2 separate regions of the Homo sapiens genome follow, and region 1 is linked to region 2. The links are contacts of gene promoters, found by promoter capture Hi-C in blood cells and fetal thymus (Javierre and others, 2016). All regions are on one chromosome and are shown on one strand. Each heading gives the region's core, a stretch centred on a gene start or on the middle of the fragment in contact. The rest is flanking DNA. Distances are from core to core; before and after follow the strand shown. Region 1 has its middle 12 kb from the start of SIGLEC12. Region 2 holds the start of HAS1 (hyaluronan synthase 1).

Region 1 (4,362 bases), core at 134-2,633, 210 kb before region 2:
TTTCTCCCAATCTTAGGGGAAAAAGTGTTCAATATTTCTTTATTACGTATGATGCTAATTGCAGGTTTTTAGATGCTCTTAATCAAATCGAAGTTTTTCTCTTCTAGTCCTAATTTGTTGAGATTGTTTTAAATTATAAATGTGTTTTAAATTCTGCCCAGCGTTATTTCTGGAGTAATCAAGAGGCACATTTGATGTTTCTCTTTTATTCTGGTAGCGTGGTGAATTACATTTATTTTTGGATGTGAAACCCCACTTGGTCATCATGTATTACGTCAATTTTATTTGTTGGATTGGATTTACTTATATTTAAATGAAGACTTTTCTATGTTCATGAGGTGCAGTGATCTGCAGTTTTCTTTTCTTGTAACGTCCTCATGAAGCTTTGGTATCAGGTTTGAATTTTGCCTCATGAAATGAGTGTTTTCTCCTTCTCTATTTACTGAGGGAGTCTGGGAAAGTTTGATATTATTTCTCCTTTAAATGTTTCGTAGAATTCCACATACAGTGCCATCATGATTAATTAATTACCTATGATTGAGTGGCTATTAAGCAAATGCCTTGAAGGATCGAATGGCGATGCTATTCACTGCTGTGTGAGCATTAATGACCACAAAGACTGTGTGGTAAACTCTCTGCTCCTAACTCTGCTGGAAAACCTGCAAAGGGCAAGTGCCAAGCTCAGGTCTTACCTTGTAGGTCAAGTTATGGTTGTAAACTACAGAAATGCCTTATGACTTCAAACAATTTCATGTCATTTGACTATGGGGACAATCTTGCAAAAAAAAAAAAATCAGACCCCAAATTTAATTGTATTTATTGAAGAATTACGACATAATTTGAATTTAAAGATTTGTCTGCGCTTCTTATAGGAAATTTAGGGCAGTTATTGGAAAGGACTGAGGGGCTTGGGCTTGGAAAGGGGTCTTGCATGAAGATCAAGTACCCAAGAACATGTGGATGACCCCTATGCATGGTCTTTGGATAAAGTCGAAAATCTTCAACCCCCTTGCCCCAAGACTTTTTGAAACTCTCTTGATACCAGAATATAGCCTGATTTCCTTGGTCTGGAGAGATTAGTCTTTCCTTACTGGAAGACTCTAATAATTCTGCTTGGAGAGATTGCCCAAGCACAGGAAGGTGCTGAGTCTCTTCAAAACTCATCCCAATCACTATTCATTCCAGACCAAGAATAAAATGCAAGTCTCTTCCATGGGGTAAATGCAATGCCCGACCCTTGAGAAGATCTTACATTCTAAAGGAATTATTGGATTCTCTGATTTATATCAGCAGACACCTGAGAAATATATGTTAAAGTGGACACTAGGAATCTTAGACCAACAAAGATAAAATATTACACTGGCTTAGCCAAATATATTGATACGGGTGTACTAACAAAAGATTACAGATACAATGTTTTGGCTCAAGAAGCTCTCAGGTGGATGAAGGAATTTGCTTTATGTTTGATTGAAACAATATTATCACTATATTCCAATGAAAATGGACTCAACAATGACCCAAATTTAACGAGGATGATGTCAGAACTTTCTTGGCATAATGGAGAAAAAATAACCCAAAGGTTTAGAGAGTTAAAAATGTTGGAAAATAAAAAATGACAAAAGTTCAACCTGTACCCTCATCTCCTCTGCTCTTACCCCTCAAGTAGTATACTGGTAAAGACAGCACAAGTGTCCATGAAAAGCTCTGTGAAGACTAACCTGGTTCAGCCTATTTTTTTTCACCTTATATATTCTGAAGCCATTCTTTGCCTATTTTTGCCTTACATATTCTGAAGCTATTTTATCATGTGCAGGTAAATTTCTAATGTATCTTCCTAGTATATTGAATATTTAATCCTTAAAAAATTGGCCCTTTTATCTCCATTAACACTTTGTTTGGTAAAAGATATATTTTCTGATATTGACATACTTATGATGGTCAGTTTAATGTGCCAATGTTTCTAGGTTATAGTCCCCAGAACATTCAATGAAACGTTAATCTAGGTGTTGCTGTGAAGGTGCTTTGTACACAGGATTAAGATTTATGATCAGTTTATTGGGGATGACAGAAAGAAATACTGCAACGGATATAATCACACTGCTTTCAATCAGGATGATGGAATTGTCAAAGGCAATGTGTCATTACTTAATCCCTAGAGATAAGTTGAGCACATTAGCTTTAAAGAGGATCAGAGATAAAATGGGAGGTCATCCTACCCCTACCAAAGAAGCTCAATTCTTGATAGTCACCTTTGGATTTTGGAGGAAATGTACAACTATGATTGGATGCTCTAACCCACTTACTACGTAAATCTTAAGACTTCCAGTTTGGAGTTGTTCTCAGTTCAAGGAAAGGCTCTGCAGCAGGTCCAGGCTGTAGTATAAGAAGCTTTACAACTTGAGGTTTATAACTCAAGATTAAATTATACTTGAATTATCTGGAATAATTAAGAATGTCGGTGTGCCCCAGAGTGAAGACCCCTAGGACTTTTGTTGCAAAGCCATGCTCTGTTTTTGAGAACATGATGGATCTCTTGAGAAAGAGCTTCTGACTTATTACCAGGCCTTGGTAGAGACTGATACCCTTACTATGGGATATGAAGCGAATATATAATACAAACTGCCCATCATGAAGTAGGTGCTCTGTGACCCATCAAGCTAAAAGGTTGGGCATGTGAAGCAATAATCCATTATGAAGTGAATTTGGATATGATATAACTGACTTCAAGATGGGCTTCAAGAAGTCCAGAAATCACAACCAAGTGACATGAGCAGGTGACCCAGATTCCTACAACTCCTCCTGGGATATTGCCTTATTTTTTCATGAAATCACATGTGTGACCTCATGGGCAGTTCTTTATGGCCATTGCTTGAGGAGGAAAACATTTCATCTTGGTTTTCAAGTGGTTCTGCTCAATCAACTGGCACAGCAAGGAGTGGACTTTTGCATCATGACAAACTCAACCACAGTGAACCTGAGAGCGGGACTGAAGGAACTCCCCCTAGTGGCAGAATTTCATAAATACATTTGGCTTTTCATTTTGAGACTGAGAGGTCAGAAGGACAGATACAAACTGAACCATGCCTACAGCGTTAGGTAACACATTTTTTCCCAGAAATTTGTCCATTTTCTATAAGTATTCAAAACTTTTCATACAGCTTACTACTTTCTGCTTATTTTGCATTAGATTAAGTAATGTTTTCTCCCTTATATTCCTGCATACTAGTTATTTTTGCCTTCTATATTTCTGGACTAATTGCAACTGAGGTTTGCCCATTTTATTATTTGTATCAAAAACTAGCTGTTCGTGATGTTGTTCCTTTCTACTGAATATGTTTTCTATGCTATGTGCTCTTATCATTTGATATTTCCTTCTCTCCAATTCCTTTTGGTTTTGTTGTTCTTTTTCTAAGTTCTTGAAATTAAAGCTTAGTTTATTAAATTTTAGCTTTTCCCACCCTAGCATATACATTTAAGGTTATATATAGTTCCTCTAATAAATGCTTTAGTTTTACTCTAAAAGTTTTATAGTATTTTCAGTATCCAGTTTTAAATAATTTCTTATTTGTGTTATGATGATAATGATGACAATTTTTTTTAAGATGGAGTCTCACTGTTGCCCAGGCTGGAGTGCAGTGCCTCCCAGATCCAAGCAATTCTCCTGCTTCAGCCTGCTGAGTAGCTGGGATTACAGGCACATGCCACCACACCCAGCTAAGTTTTGTATTTTTTTTTTTTCAGTAGAGACAGGGTTTCGCCATGTTGCCCAGGCTAGTCTTGAAATCCTGACCTCAAGTGATCTGCCCACCTCGGCCTCCCAAAGTGTTGGGATTACAGGCATGAGCCGCCACGCCTGGCTGTATGTTTTGATTATTTAATCTATGACTTATTTTAAGGGATTTTCTAAGTTTCCACTAATTATGTACAGTTACATAGACATTGGTATATAATTACATTTTATTACTTATTTTGAGCTTAATAACATTGAAATCAATTAACATATTCTGTATGGTTTCACTTCTCTGACATATGTTGAAATATACTTTTGGCCCAGTATATGGTAAAAAAAAAATTTTTAATACTCCATGTGTGCTCAAATAGAATATGTTTTCTGCAGTTGTTTGGAGCAGTTTCTACCTATGGCCATAGACCAAGTTTGTTAATCATGTTATTTATGTATACTATGTTGCATATCCTTAACAATTCTCTTGTTTGTGTGTACCATCAGTTATTGTAAAATATGTGTTAAAAATTGCCCTCCATAAATGTGGATTAGGCTATTTTGTTTTCACTTTGCCTATTCTTGCCTTATGTATTCTGAAGCTATTTTATCATGTGCAGGTACATTTCAAATGTATCTTC
Region 2 (3,809 bases), core at 906-3,405:
CTAGCGATCCTCCTGCCTTGGCCCCCTAAAGTGCTGGGATTATAGGCGTGAGCTACTGCACCCGGTCTCTACAACAATCTTATAAGGCAGGTACCTTCACTGTCTTCTGTTACAGATGAGGAAACTGAGACACTGAGAGGCAAATACTTTTACCCAAGGTCACTCAGGTAATAAGCAGAGTCAGAAGTAAAACTCAGGCAGTCTGGCTCTGGCGTCCCCTCTACGCTAAACTGCCTCCTATGCCACCAGTTCCTGCCTCAAGGCTTACTGTGGGTTATTTAAATGCGTCGTTAAGATGTAGATCTTTGTGTCCAACACAGGTGTCAGCAGCCACATGTGTCTACCGAGTACTTGAAATGCAGCCAGTATCACCGAGGAACTGAGTTTTAAATTTTATTTAATTTTAATTCATTTAAATTTAAAAACTCTTACTTGATTCGGTTATTGGAAAGATTTTAAATATGTCTGGAACAAGTTGCATCTACGATGCCCCTTTTATAATTGTAAATCTTATAAAATCTAAACACAGATTAGGTATTTCCAGTGAAAAGGTAGCATCTAAGTGAGAAGTGCTATGAACACACTGGATTTTGAAGGCCAAGTCTGGGGAAAAGAAAGTAAAATAGCTCATTAACATTTATGTATTGATTACATATTGAAATGATCATATCTTATATGTAGCAGGGGTCGGCATGCTAAGACCTGCTGCAGCCTGCAGGCTAAGAATTTGTGTGTGTGTTTTTAGATGGTTTTTGAAAGCCAAAAGAAGAATAATAGTTTGTGGAGCATGAAAAATATGAAATTCAAATTTCAGTGTCCTTAAAGGAAGTTTTATTTGCATACAACCACATTCATTTGTTTATACATCATCTGTGGCTGATTCTACATTTACCACATCGAAGTTGAGTACTTTCAAAAGAGACCAGATGGCCCCCAAAAGCCTCAAATATTTAATATTGGGCCCTTTATTTAAAAAAATGTGCTGGCCCCTGACACACTGGGTTAAATAAAAATATATTATTAAAATTAATTTCACCTGTTTGTTTTTACTTTTTCAAATGTGGCCACAAGAAAATTTTAAATTAGATATTGTGGTTTTCGTTACATTTCTAGAGGACAAAACTGAGGTACAGCTTTTAAACTCTCAACATTAAACATTATTCTTTCTTCTCGAATCCCCCTTCTCTCTTCCTTTGCTTCAAACCTGGCCTTGCCTGAGTTCCTAGGGATGGCTCAATTCATGCTGGGGATCCAGAGAGTTGATTCCAGAAACACAGATGAACACACGTGTAGACACACTCCCCCACACGTGAACTCACACATGATGAGTGACACACAGAATGAAATTACTCGTGTTCTACAGGATGACCCGAGACACCCACTCAGGCCAAACACAGCGATCCCGTGACCCCCACCGACGGCCACACAGGTGAACCTGCAGACACACACCCCTCAGCAGGAAAAAGCAACACCAGCAAAGGATGTCCACGTGGCCACAAACACACAGAGCCCCAACTGAGAGTCTGGGGCAATGGGATGCACAGGGAAGATTTCAAGAGAAATAGTAGGTGACTGTCAAGCTGATACTGAACCAGATGAAATTGCTATTCTTCCAAGTTTAGAGTGGCTCAGTATCGGCGATTTCATTTGGTTCAACTTAATAGCTATTGAACGCATGAAACAGAAATCCATTCCCATGTGCCACAGGCAAATCCAACTCTCTTTCTCACTCAGTCTCTTTCATTCGCTCACTGTCGCACTCCCTCTTTCTCTCTGCCTCCCAGGGAACATAGACATACACAAGTTTGTAGCAAGATACGCAGATACAGAAATACGGACATGGCACGTCTCACCTACATGTACTTGGGATGGCCGCTCACACAGGGCAATGTATACACAGACCTGCACACTCAGCCTCACATGCTCACTGTCCCCTACACACATATGGTCACTGTCAGGCACATGGATACACACATGAAATCATGCACACACAGTTCCCCAACACACGTGGTCACACATATGGCAGTAGTTTTCCCCACATGGCTGTATACACACACACACACACACACACACACACACACACACACACCTGTCTCATCGCAGTGGGTCTGGCCGGGCTCTCTCTTCTCTCCGGCTTGCTCTCCCAGCCTCTCTGTGGCCAGAGAGCTGGAGGGGGGTCATTTGAAGACCAGCGCAGGCGGGGGCGGGAGCGAGCGCTGACGTCAGTCAGGCTAAGCTGGGCCAGGGGCTCTGAGGTCACGGCCCAGCCGGGCAGCTCCACCCGCTTCCCGCTATTACTCCCACCCCCCTCAGCCAGACGGGCCTCCCTTCCCAGGCCCCCATGTCTACCCGCGCCCCTCCTCTAGTCCTCTCTGCCATCACTCCCCCTCCTCTCCCTCCCTCCTCTATGTCTTCTTCTCTCTTCCTCCCCCCTCTCGTCCCTTGTCTCCCCTGATTTTTCTCTTCCACCTCACTTGCATTTTGGGGGTTCCCCTCATCCCCCCATCCCCTATCCCTGTATTTCCCTCCATCCCTTTCTTTCTCCCTAACCCACTATTTCTCCTCATCTCTTTGTTGGTACCCTCATCTCTCTCCCCATTACCACATTTCTCCAAGTTTCTGTCTTTCTCTCCATCCCTTTCTTCCTCTCCACTTCTCTTGCCTCCTCTCACCCTCATTTCTTTCTCTTCTTGCTTTAAAGCTCTCCCCACCTCCCCCTTCTCACCTTCCCCAGTCACCCCCGCCCTGCTTCTCCCCACAGCCGCCTCTCCTGTCCCCAGAATCCATCTCTGGGTTGGGCCCCCCAGGGACATGTCTCAGCAACTGGCAGATGGAACGAAACTCACACACGTGCGTGCTGTGGGTGTGCCTGTGTGTACGCTGGCCCGAGGCACGGCTGCCTGGAACCGGAGCTGTGAGTGAACATCTGTCCATTCAGCGCCTAACTGACGTGGGTCTGCGTGTGTGCACCAGGGTCTGGGGTGGAGAGCTGGGGCGCTGGGATTTGTATCCCCAGGGACTCAGGGATGAACACAGAGAGTTGTCGGTCAGCTGACCCTGGGGAGCCAGCCGGGGTCTGTCAGTGCTGTCACCCATCAGGGAAACTGAGTCAGAGGAAGGGTGAAAAGAGATGCGGGACCTGGGGTGCCCGAACCCCAGCCCCTCAGGACCAGATCTGTGATAAATGTCTGTTTACATGCCCTTCTTTCCATGAATTTTTTAAAAAAACTATCTGTATCTAATTCTGTTCTTCTCTCTGCTCCTCTTACTGTGAACTATTGATGTCTCACTTTCGGCCTTGGTAGCTGCCTCGGTAGCTGCCTCGTTCTTTTCTCCCTGCCTGTGACTCCAACGACCTTTGGTGTCTGGCACGGGCCAGCTCCAGGACAGGCTGAAAGACATGGAGCAGCAGAGAGAAATTCCCCCGTGCTTCTCTCTCCTCGTCTGTCCCTCCCCAAATCTCTGTCATTTTGTATCTGTCACCCCATCTCTGTTTCTCGGTCCCTCTATTTGGGTCTCTGCCTCTGTGTATTCCTGTCTGTTTCTCCTCCTCATCCCCCCTCACAGCCATTCTCTCTCTGCTTTTACCTGGGAGTGTCTGTCCCTTTGCATTTCTGAAGTCTCCCTGACTTTCTTCTTGTGTGGCTCTCTTTCTTTCTGAGTGCCTCTCCCTGACTTTCTCACTGTGTGTCCATGTGTGTGTGTCTCTTTCTCTCTGTCTCTTTTTCCCTCTATCTCCCTCCCTCTCTAGCTCTGTCTCTATCCTCCTTCCGTCTCTCTGCATCCCCATCTCTCTCTTTTTTTTTTTT

Evidence for each region. The method cuts DNA at HindIII sites, captures the fragments that hold promoters and counts their contacts. A CHiCAGO score of 5 or more calls a contact.
Region 1: a fragment that was not itself captured here is called in contact with the fragment with the promoter of HAS1 in region 2 in 1 of 17 cell types (monocytes); the score reaches 6.5 in monocytes.

The regions. Positions count from the first base shown.
Region 1 is chr19:51,512,084-51,516,445 of GRCh38, forward strand. No RefSeq gene overlaps it. Among named protein-coding and RNA genes, the nearest start is that of SIGLEC12, 12 kb to the left of the region's middle. The HindIII fragment of the contact is 2,005 bases long and covers 382-2,386 here.
Region 2 is chr19:51,721,836-51,725,644 of GRCh38, forward strand. HAS1 (hyaluronan synthase 1) reads right to left here and starts at 2,156. Exons shown (of 5, transcript NM_001297436.2): 1 at 2,090-2,156. The coding sequence starts at 2,098. The HindIII fragment of the contact is 33,518 bases long and covers 1-3,809 here.